3 separate regions of the Homo sapiens genome follow, and all the other regions are linked to region 2. Evidence: promoter capture Hi-C in human tissues and cell types (Jung and others, 2019). All regions are on one chromosome and are shown on one strand. The core of a region is centred on a gene start or on the middle of the fragment in contact, and the rest is flanking DNA. Distances in the headings are between cores, read along the strand shown. Region 1 overlaps SEMA3A (semaphorin 3A). Region 2 holds the start of SEMA3D (semaphorin 3D). Region 3 has its middle 84 kb from the start of SEMA3E.

Evidence for each region. Contacts are between HindIII fragments. The study calls those that stand out against the background at their distance.
Region 1: a contact is called between a fragment that was not itself captured here and the fragment with the promoter of SEMA3D in region 2, in 1 of the 25 tissues and cell types used here (spleen).
Region 3: a contact is called between a fragment that was not itself captured here and the fragment with the promoter of SEMA3D in region 2, in 1 of the 25 tissues and cell types used here (H1 embryonic stem cells).

The regions. Positions count from the first base shown.
Region 1 is chr7:84,183,861-84,186,887 of GRCh38, reverse strand. The region is part of intron 1 of SEMA3A (semaphorin 3A); the gene reads left to right. Among named protein-coding and RNA genes, the nearest start is that of SEMA3A, 9.4 kb to the left of the region's middle. The HindIII fragment of the contact is 8,232 bases long and covers 1-3,027 here.
Region 2 is chr7:85,185,574-85,188,350 of GRCh38, reverse strand. SEMA3D (semaphorin 3D) reads left to right here and starts at 1,295. Exons shown (of 19, transcript NM_001384900.1): 1 at 1,295-1,673. RefSeq lists a silencer at 1,424-1,483. The HindIII fragment of the contact is 9,968 bases long and covers 1-2,777 here.
Region 3 is chr7:83,732,163-83,734,862 of GRCh38, reverse strand. No RefSeq gene overlaps it. Among named protein-coding and RNA genes, the nearest start is that of SEMA3E, 84 kb to the right of the region's middle. The HindIII fragment of the contact is 6,001 bases long and covers 1-2,700 here.

The DNA of each region.
Region 1 (3,027 bases), core at 26-2,525, 1.0 Mb after region 2:
AAGATACTGATTGAGAGGGTGGGAGAGGATAGTAGGCTAATTTCCTTAGGCCACTTATATATAGATCTATAGATTGGTATTTAGAATAAAATGAACTTACAATGTTCGTTGGAAAATTCTTTTTTTTTTTTTAAATATGTAGTTATTGTGACATGGTAGAAATATTGCCAGGAAAGGACAATGGGACAACTACTAGCAGCATTGTTATTATGTACAAATCATAGTTATTAAGTGGTATTGAAAAATGATTGTGTAATCCAAGTGTAATCCAAACTCTTAGAAATGTATTTGGGCATAGCTAAAACAAAGTTGTTTACACCTGAGGTCAAATCAAGCTGTCAAAGTGCTTATGAATCTTCATAATATGGGTCAGAAATTTTGTTTTCTTTTAACCTTCAACTTTGAATTTCAAGAGAATAAATGCTGTTCCGTTGTTATTATCCCTTAAGAACTAGCTTAAATGAAAGTACGTTTTCATAAGTTCTGCAAACTTTATTTACAAAAGCACCATTATTAACTATTTCTTACTTGCGTTCTATGTATAAAATAGACACATAAAGCCACATAACTCATCTGTCAGATTTCTTTATGAATAGATTCTTGGATAAATAAAGTGAATATTGTAGAATTTTTGAGAAAGGTGATGTCACATCTACCTAAAGATTTTAGGGTGGCTTTTTAAACTAGGACCCAAAGAAGGTGGGCCTTGAATGATAGGACAAATATGAGAAGGTAAAAGTAGAGAAGAGTGGTGACTACTGTATCAGAAACTATTTCTTTGGATTTGATTTTCTTTTTAGGAAAACAGCAATATATTTAGAATAATTTATATGACTTAGAGCTGCAGCATAGCAGGCTAGGAACTTCATAGAGTAGAGTTGATACGTGGTTGTCTATATTTGACTGACAGTGAGATCAGGAGGGACAAGTGACACCTACTTGTGAGGACCTTCTAGAGTGGTCAGTCAGTTGGGCTTCTCTATTTCTTTTTTGGAATTTATCTACAAAATACAGAAGCAGGGTTATTTCTTACCAAAGGAAAAAAGAAAAGGACGTTGATTTTGGTTATCTGATGTAGAAAACACTTTTATTATCAGTTTTTAAAACTATAACATAAAATGATTTATAATGATGGTTTCTTCATGTTTTTAGAATTAACTCATTATTTCTTTCCTTTTTTTTTTTTTTTTTTTTTCCTGCCAGAGTTTCTCTCTTGTCACCCAGGCTGGAGTGCAATGGCGTGATCTCTGCTCACTGTAACCTCCACCTCCCAGGTTTAAGTGATTCTCTTGCCTCAGACTCCTGAGTAGCTGGGATTATGGGCATGTATCACCATGCCTGGCTAATTTTTTATTTTTTTTATTTTTTAAATTTTTTTAGTAGAGATGGTGTTTCACTATGTTGTCCAGGCTGGTCTCGAACTCCTGACCTCAGATGATCTGCCCACCTTGGCCTCCCAAAGTGCTGGGATTACAGGCATGAGTCACCACACCCACACCCAGCCCCTTATTATTTCTTTAATTCAACAGCAAGTTGTGAATAAAGTCTTCACAACAAGTCTGGAAATATTTGATAATATATATTAGACAACGTTGTAGGTTCATGGTACCCGGCAACACAGAAAAAAGTCACTTCTGGAATTTTGTTCAAAATGGTATAATTCCTTGTACTTTGAAGAATTGTATATAGATAAAGAAATACATAAATTCATGGGTTTATATTTAGTATGTGTGTGTTGTGTATATCCACAATACTCAAGTACAAGAAAAGTCATATACCGTTATTTTTCTAATTTTTTTACATTTAATTGGGAATTACTGAAATTAAAACACCAGTTATTAGAGCACAAGAATAAAGGATTTGGACACAGGTCTTGAGAGACAGTCTCTCCCTTTGCTTTGTGTCAGGTCTTAAGCAGTTCATGATTGGCTGTGATCTGTCATTTGTGGTTGACCTTCCCAGGGCACGTTCCATTGTTCAATGTTGCTGTCTAACCAAGTTCTCTGCTCTCTTCTGGGCACTGGTACTTTAAAAAGTTACCAAGAGTCTCCTTTCTGCCACCCTTCCACTAAGCCTCCTCATTATATTGGCTCTGGACCTTAGTACTTGTCTTGCCTCTAAAGGCATGCACGTAATGTTTCTATTCTGTTTCTTCAAGCTCCAGAGTGAAAGTTATGCTGGGTGCAGGGTCTGATCAGCACACAGATTCCCCCAATATAATTGCCTTCTATCTTTCCAGGTTTGAAGTATATTGCAAAAAAAAAAAGGATTTCTCCCCTTACCCATACCCCCACCTTTTTACCTGGTAGTACTTCAGTCTATATCTTTTGACTTCTCCAAATAAATCTCATTTAATGCTATCCTTTCAAAAACAAAATCCTGTTAATTCTCGTTTTGGGATATGGGAAAACTTTCCAACCCTCAAAAATGAAACCTTTTGTTTTTAGCAGATCAATCTCAAGCTAGGCTCTCCCGCACTGGCCCAGAGCTACAGAGTTTCTTACTTTCACCACATGATCCCCGTGTTCAATAGAGTCTCAGACTTCTTTTACTTCCCAAGGTGCCTAGTCAGTACAGGATTACGGTTTCCTTTGCACATTCTAATATACAGACATCTTTTCTGTCATTTAAGCCCTTCTTCCAGACAACTATTTAAGATCTAACATAACAAAATGAGACTAAATGATTTTTTTAAAAAAAACGTTCTGACGCCTGTGAAATTACTTAGCAAGGCAGATCAATGTCTGCTTTGCCCATTTGTGGTTCATCAGACCTAAATTAATACTTATCTGACTGGCCTTTCTCTTTAGCTGTCAAGTAGGGAAAAACTATCTCCTCTGTGACAATACTTCTGTTCACAACTATATAAACATCAGCACATTGATACTGAGAGAATCTGTTTAGTCTATTTTAAGCAGATTCCATGTAAGGAAGTGAAATTAGTAATGGTATAGTAATTTATTTCTTTCATACAAATCTCAGTCTATAATACTGAGCTGTATCACACATAACACACACTATGGACAC
Region 2 (2,777 bases), core at 46-2,545:
TATGGGGTTGATTGGTTGTGAGTCCAAACCAAGGTTATAGAGATGGGGCAGCATGAGACACAAGAAAGAGCCTTGGTCAGATTTGAGAAACCTGAGCCTTTCCTTAGCCTGACTCTGCCATCAACCATTTATAACTTAAAATGACTCCTTTAGCTTCTGTGGCCCTCAGCCCTCTGCCACAGATAAAAGGTCAAATGAAGAATGTCTTCCACCCCTTTCAGTTATTCCATTACTGCATTTGTCTGTTCACCATCTCCAAATCAAGATATCTCTTGTTACTTGCTAAGGAAGCTTTGGGACCCTACACCTTGTGCTCTTAAATCAAGCTGACAAATGCAGGATCCCGTGGCTGCTTGCTTTCCATGTCTCTACCTCATGTCAGATTTATGTTTGGGACTAAGGGCAAGGTGTGTGACTATAAACCTGGATATCCCATCACAAAGGATTTACCATGCAGCTAAAAATGCCTAACGTACAGGGCTCACCAAATGCACAGGCCTTTTTAATGTCCCTGACGGTGGCCTCATGAACTCTCATTGTCATATATTTTTGCAGAATCTGTAGAAGTGAGATATTTCTGCATTACTTTTGCTTAAAGAGGATCCTCTATTCCAATTGCATAGGATCCAGGTTCATCAAAACTTAGATCTTCTCGTCATTATATACTTCTAAGTTCCTACTGTGTGAATAAGGGGTGCAAAAATCTAAAAAACTCCCGAAGACAAGGATATGAGGCACACCTCTTTGTAGGTCTGGCGTAAGGGAAAGAGGAAGAAAGGATTACATTCTACTCGTTTTTATCTCTCCCTGTTTGGTCTTAATCGGGTGCCAGCCCCTTAACGGAGGGTTGATCCCTGTTCCTCATCCCTATGCCTGCCTTGTCAAGGCCATTAACCGTGGATTGAGGTTTTACATAGTGGAACGCAGGTACTGTTTTGTGGGATTAGCATTTTTAGGACGGTGTTTGTGGTCACTCTCCCTGTTTCTTCCTCATGGGGTCCCTTAACAGGTTTTATGGTATAGAGAAGGAACTAAAGAAGTCCCCAAGTCACCCAGAAGGAAGATCAGACGTTAGAGGTTGCTTTACACATAGGGTGCCCTGTCCTGATAAACATCCGTCAGCGCTTGGCCAGGGCTACCTCTAAATCCACGCTGCTGGCAGCCTCCGCGCAGCAGGGATGAACTTCTGCACGCTTGGGAGTTCTGGCGTGCGCAGTGGAAGGAGGGGGCGAGGGCTGGGGGAGGAGATCGGAAGGGGAAAGGTAATCCCCGGCGTTTTCAGCATCCTCTTTTTAGAAAGACTGAGTCTCTCCCAGGACAGCTGCTGCGGTCACACCACAAACTTAAAAGCCGCCCTCCTGTTTGGAGCGTGCCTTTCCTCGCCACCCTCTCCTCCCCAAAGCTCCAGCTGGTGCCTTGCTCTCCGCCTGTCCTAGCGCGGCTCTCGGGGGAGGCAGCAGCGCCCCCTGCCTCCCGGCCTGGCCCCTGCGGCCGCAGCTTCCCGGCTCTGCCAGGGCTGCCGGCGGCTCCGCTTGCTCAGCCAGGGCTGCGGCTCAGAGGAACGCGCGCCGGTGCCCCGGGTTGCCGCGCCGCTGGACCTCAGCCTGCATCCCGTTCCCCTCTCCCTGAAAAGGCACCAGGAAAAGAGAGAGGGAGAGAAGAGTTCACAGCAGGTAAGTCTGGTTTGGGTCACCTGCTACTCCAGTGGGAGGGTGTGCTGGAGACCGCGGTGCTAAGCGGGGATAGCCGGGATTTGGGGGTGGCTGTGGGTCCGAAGTGGAGGACGAGCATGGTTTGGGAGATAAGGAACCGTCCTGAGACAGAGAAGGCTCCCGGGAGCGGACAGAGAGTGGGCGAAATCGGTGCGCAGTAATCGCGGCGCCAGCTTCAGCGCGGCCCCTGGGGCGCAGTCCCACCCCGCCTCAGCAGCTGCGGAGCCTTCTGACGAGCCTCCGCCTGGCAGCACTGCACAAAGTTTTCCTCCTGAGACGCGTCCAGGAACTTTGCTCTCTCCCTGGCTTCCTGGTTCCCCCACCACCCCTCCTGGTCTGGGCAGCAGAGAGCGTCTATGAATGTGTCCCCGGCTTCCGCAGGCTGCAGGTTCATTTGGAGACGCTTTAGTCGGGAACATCCGGGGAGTACTTGACCAAAGGGCATCTGCGCCCTCGCTCGCTCCTTTCCTTGTTGGTCTGGGAGAAGGGAAAGGGGCAAGGAAGAAGGAAGGGAAGCGTGGTGGTTTTTGTTGTAGCGTTTTGGAAGAGGAATGGGCGACGCCTTTTTCTTCGCCGGGGAATCGCGACGTTCCGTCTGATGGAAGTGTGCATCCTTTTAGATTTAGAGGGAAAGTTGGAGTCAAACAGCAGCCACAAAGCTGGCTGTCTGAAATGTGGTTAAGGCAAAACACTCGGGGGATCTCTTTGTAGTAGTGGGCTTGGCTCGCTTTGGAAAGGCCGGATTTGACTCGTGCTGGGCATTTAACCAGGAGTGCGGTCCCCAGGGTGTTTCCTCCCGGCTTCTGCCCAACGAGCCTGGAGTTAATGCGTTAATGGGCTACCCTGGTAGCGCACGGGCCGTTTTCGGCACTGTTTCTCCTTCTCTGATGACTCGAGTTCAACCTCCTGGGCTGAGTTGCTTTGCCTCCGTCACAGTGCAAGGAGGGAAGTTGACAGGAGGAGGAGACGCCGCGCTGTGGCAGGGAGCTTTGGGATCCAGGGGACTGGAAGAGAGCCGCGCGCCAGCAGCTGGGGCCGCTGGTGTCCGGGATTCCGAGTTATGGG
Region 3 (2,700 bases), core at 180-2,679, 1.5 Mb after region 2:
AATTGGTGGTAAACAATTGTAATTTTTACCCAAATGTTTTAAATGTGAAGTGAAACTGCTTTATATTTTGTATTAACCTAGTTGTTATTGAAAATAAATATCATTTTATAGGCTTATTGGCCATTCGATAATTTCCAGGAGCAACTTTTATATACATTTTTTATTTTTTGCAGTTCTTTGATGTCATTTTGAAGCTTTTATTAATTGAATATGTCGAATATAGCTTCTTGAGGAATGTGACTTTGCTTTGAATTTTTTAATTAATTTTTTTGTCAACAAGGATTTTTAAATGTAACTTTCAACTAAAGTATATATTTTAAAAATGAACAAATCTTAAGTGCAAATAAATTATATCAAGGTGAACGTACCCATGTAATGACCATCAGTTCAAGAAGTCAAAAATTAGGTTTACTAGTAGAACTGAAGGGTCTTTTTAAAATATATTTTTTAATGTTTTGTGTTTTGGAATGTTAAGAAATTCTTCCCTATATTGAGAGCATTAGGAAAAATACTTAATGCAAACGGGGGATTACAACCTAGATGACGGGTTGATAGGTGCAGCAAACCACCGTGGCACATGTATACCTATGTATAAAACCCTCACATTCTGCACATGTATTCCAGAACTTAAAGTAAAATTTAAAAAAGTAAAATTAAATAAATAAAATAATAATTTTTTAAAAAAGAAATTCTTCCCTATCTTACAGTAAGAATGTTTCTATACTTTTTCTGGAAGTTCTAAAGTTTTGCTTTTAATATATAATTTTACCTTTCACATTTTTCAATCTATCTGAAATTTATGTATGTGATAATTATCTAATTTTTTCCATGTGAATAGCCAATTCTTTTAACACCAATCTATGCTTTTCTTCTAATTTGGAACGCCACCTTTGCCATATTCAATTTCCTCATGTTCATGTTTGTATTTCTGAGTTCTGTATTGTCTTTTATTTATCTGTAGTGTTTTAATTATTATAACACTATATTAAACCTTGTTATCTGGAATGGTATTCTCCCACCATTGTTCCTTTTGCTAATGCATTAGCTAATTTTGGACTTTTAATACTGCATATGGAGTTAAGAACGACCTGTCAATTTCTGTGAAAAATACCATTAGGATTTTGATTAGAATTCCATCACATATTTATAGATCAGTATGGGGAGAATTAATATTAACTACACTAATTATCCCTTCAAGAGTATGGCCTATGTTTCTTCATATAGTTGGGTTTTTGTTAGTGCTTTGCCTTTCTCTCTCTCTTTCTTTCTTTCTTTCTTTCTTTCTCTCTTTCTTTCTCTCATTCTCTCTTTCTCTCTTTCTCTCTTTCTTTCTTTCTTTCTTCATGCACCAAAAGGCCCAGCTAATTTTTTTTATATTTTTTAGAAACAGGGATCTTGCTATGTTGCCCAGACTGGTCTCAAACTCCTAGTATCAAGCAATCCTTCCTCCTCAATCTCCCAGACTGCTAGGATTACAGGTGTGAGTCACCACATGCAGCTTGTTAGTGCTTTTCCTTAAAGGTCCCCACCTCTTGTCTTTGCCCGCCTGCATTTTATTAATTGAATGTTGTAGTCCTTTTACCTTTTTTGATACTGGATCTCTTTGACATGAGCAGGAATATTATAAAGAAATTTTATCAGGCCATATCTGTGCATGAATAAACATTCTTTGCTTCACCCATTTCTATTAAAAACATTATCTTTTTGCTTTACCAACAAGGATGACTTTCTCCAGAATTTCCCCTTGTTTAAAAAAAGAAAAAAAAAAAAAGCTGACTAACCTGGATGGAGTTTGGAGGAAGGTTAGGTAAGGGGTAGTACTGGCATGTAGATTACTACTTTGCATTACCCGTAGAGTAAGAAATACTGAATTTAGCTCAAAATTGAAAGAAGTAATGTACTGCAAACCTACCTCCTTCTGTAGATTATGAGCAAGATAAAGAAACAAATGAAACTCTCTTGACACCTAGCCATATATGCTATTTACAAGAATCAGGGTGTAACAAAAGGGAAGCCCTCTGCAAAGACACAGTAAGGGCAAGATATTGCTGGACACAGAATGGTTGAGTTTTAGTTTTCTATTTCCACCAGCAGCGCCTGGCAAGGAGGCTGGAGCAGTAATATTCTCTTGGGAGGTTCAAGGCAGAGTAGAGACAAGTTATGAGAGCAGACTCTTTGTAGGGCTTCACTTTCAAGTATGGCCTAATTGCTTCTCTTGGGTTCTTCAGAAAAGGTAGAGCTGAGAGAAACAAACAGGCCCTCTGACTGCTGCCAGCTGCTGTTTGCACACTGAGTTTTGAGCCCTAGGCTGCCAAAACCACACAAATACCACAAAACAGTGGTTACTCAAACAGTAGGAAGATCAGTTCTCTGCAGGGTTCAGGAATAAAGGAGGCCCTAACAATGCTGCAAAGGCAAGAGGTCTTCCCCTAGCCTAAGGACGCTGACGTCCAGCCACATCTTGCAGAGGCTGATGGCAGAAAACGGTTGGCTGAAACCATGCTCAGAGAAACCTGGCTTGGGAACTTCCAGATATGAGGGAGGCAGTTGAAGGGCTCATAGGTCAGGTCTAGGGTCTCTGGTTCAATGAGATAGCTAGATGAGCAATAGAAAGGAACACTTTTCAGCAGGATGGTTCTGAGATCCAGCAGCTCCAGAGAATGTGCAGGAATCTAATGGAGTCCTGAGGACTTTTCTACC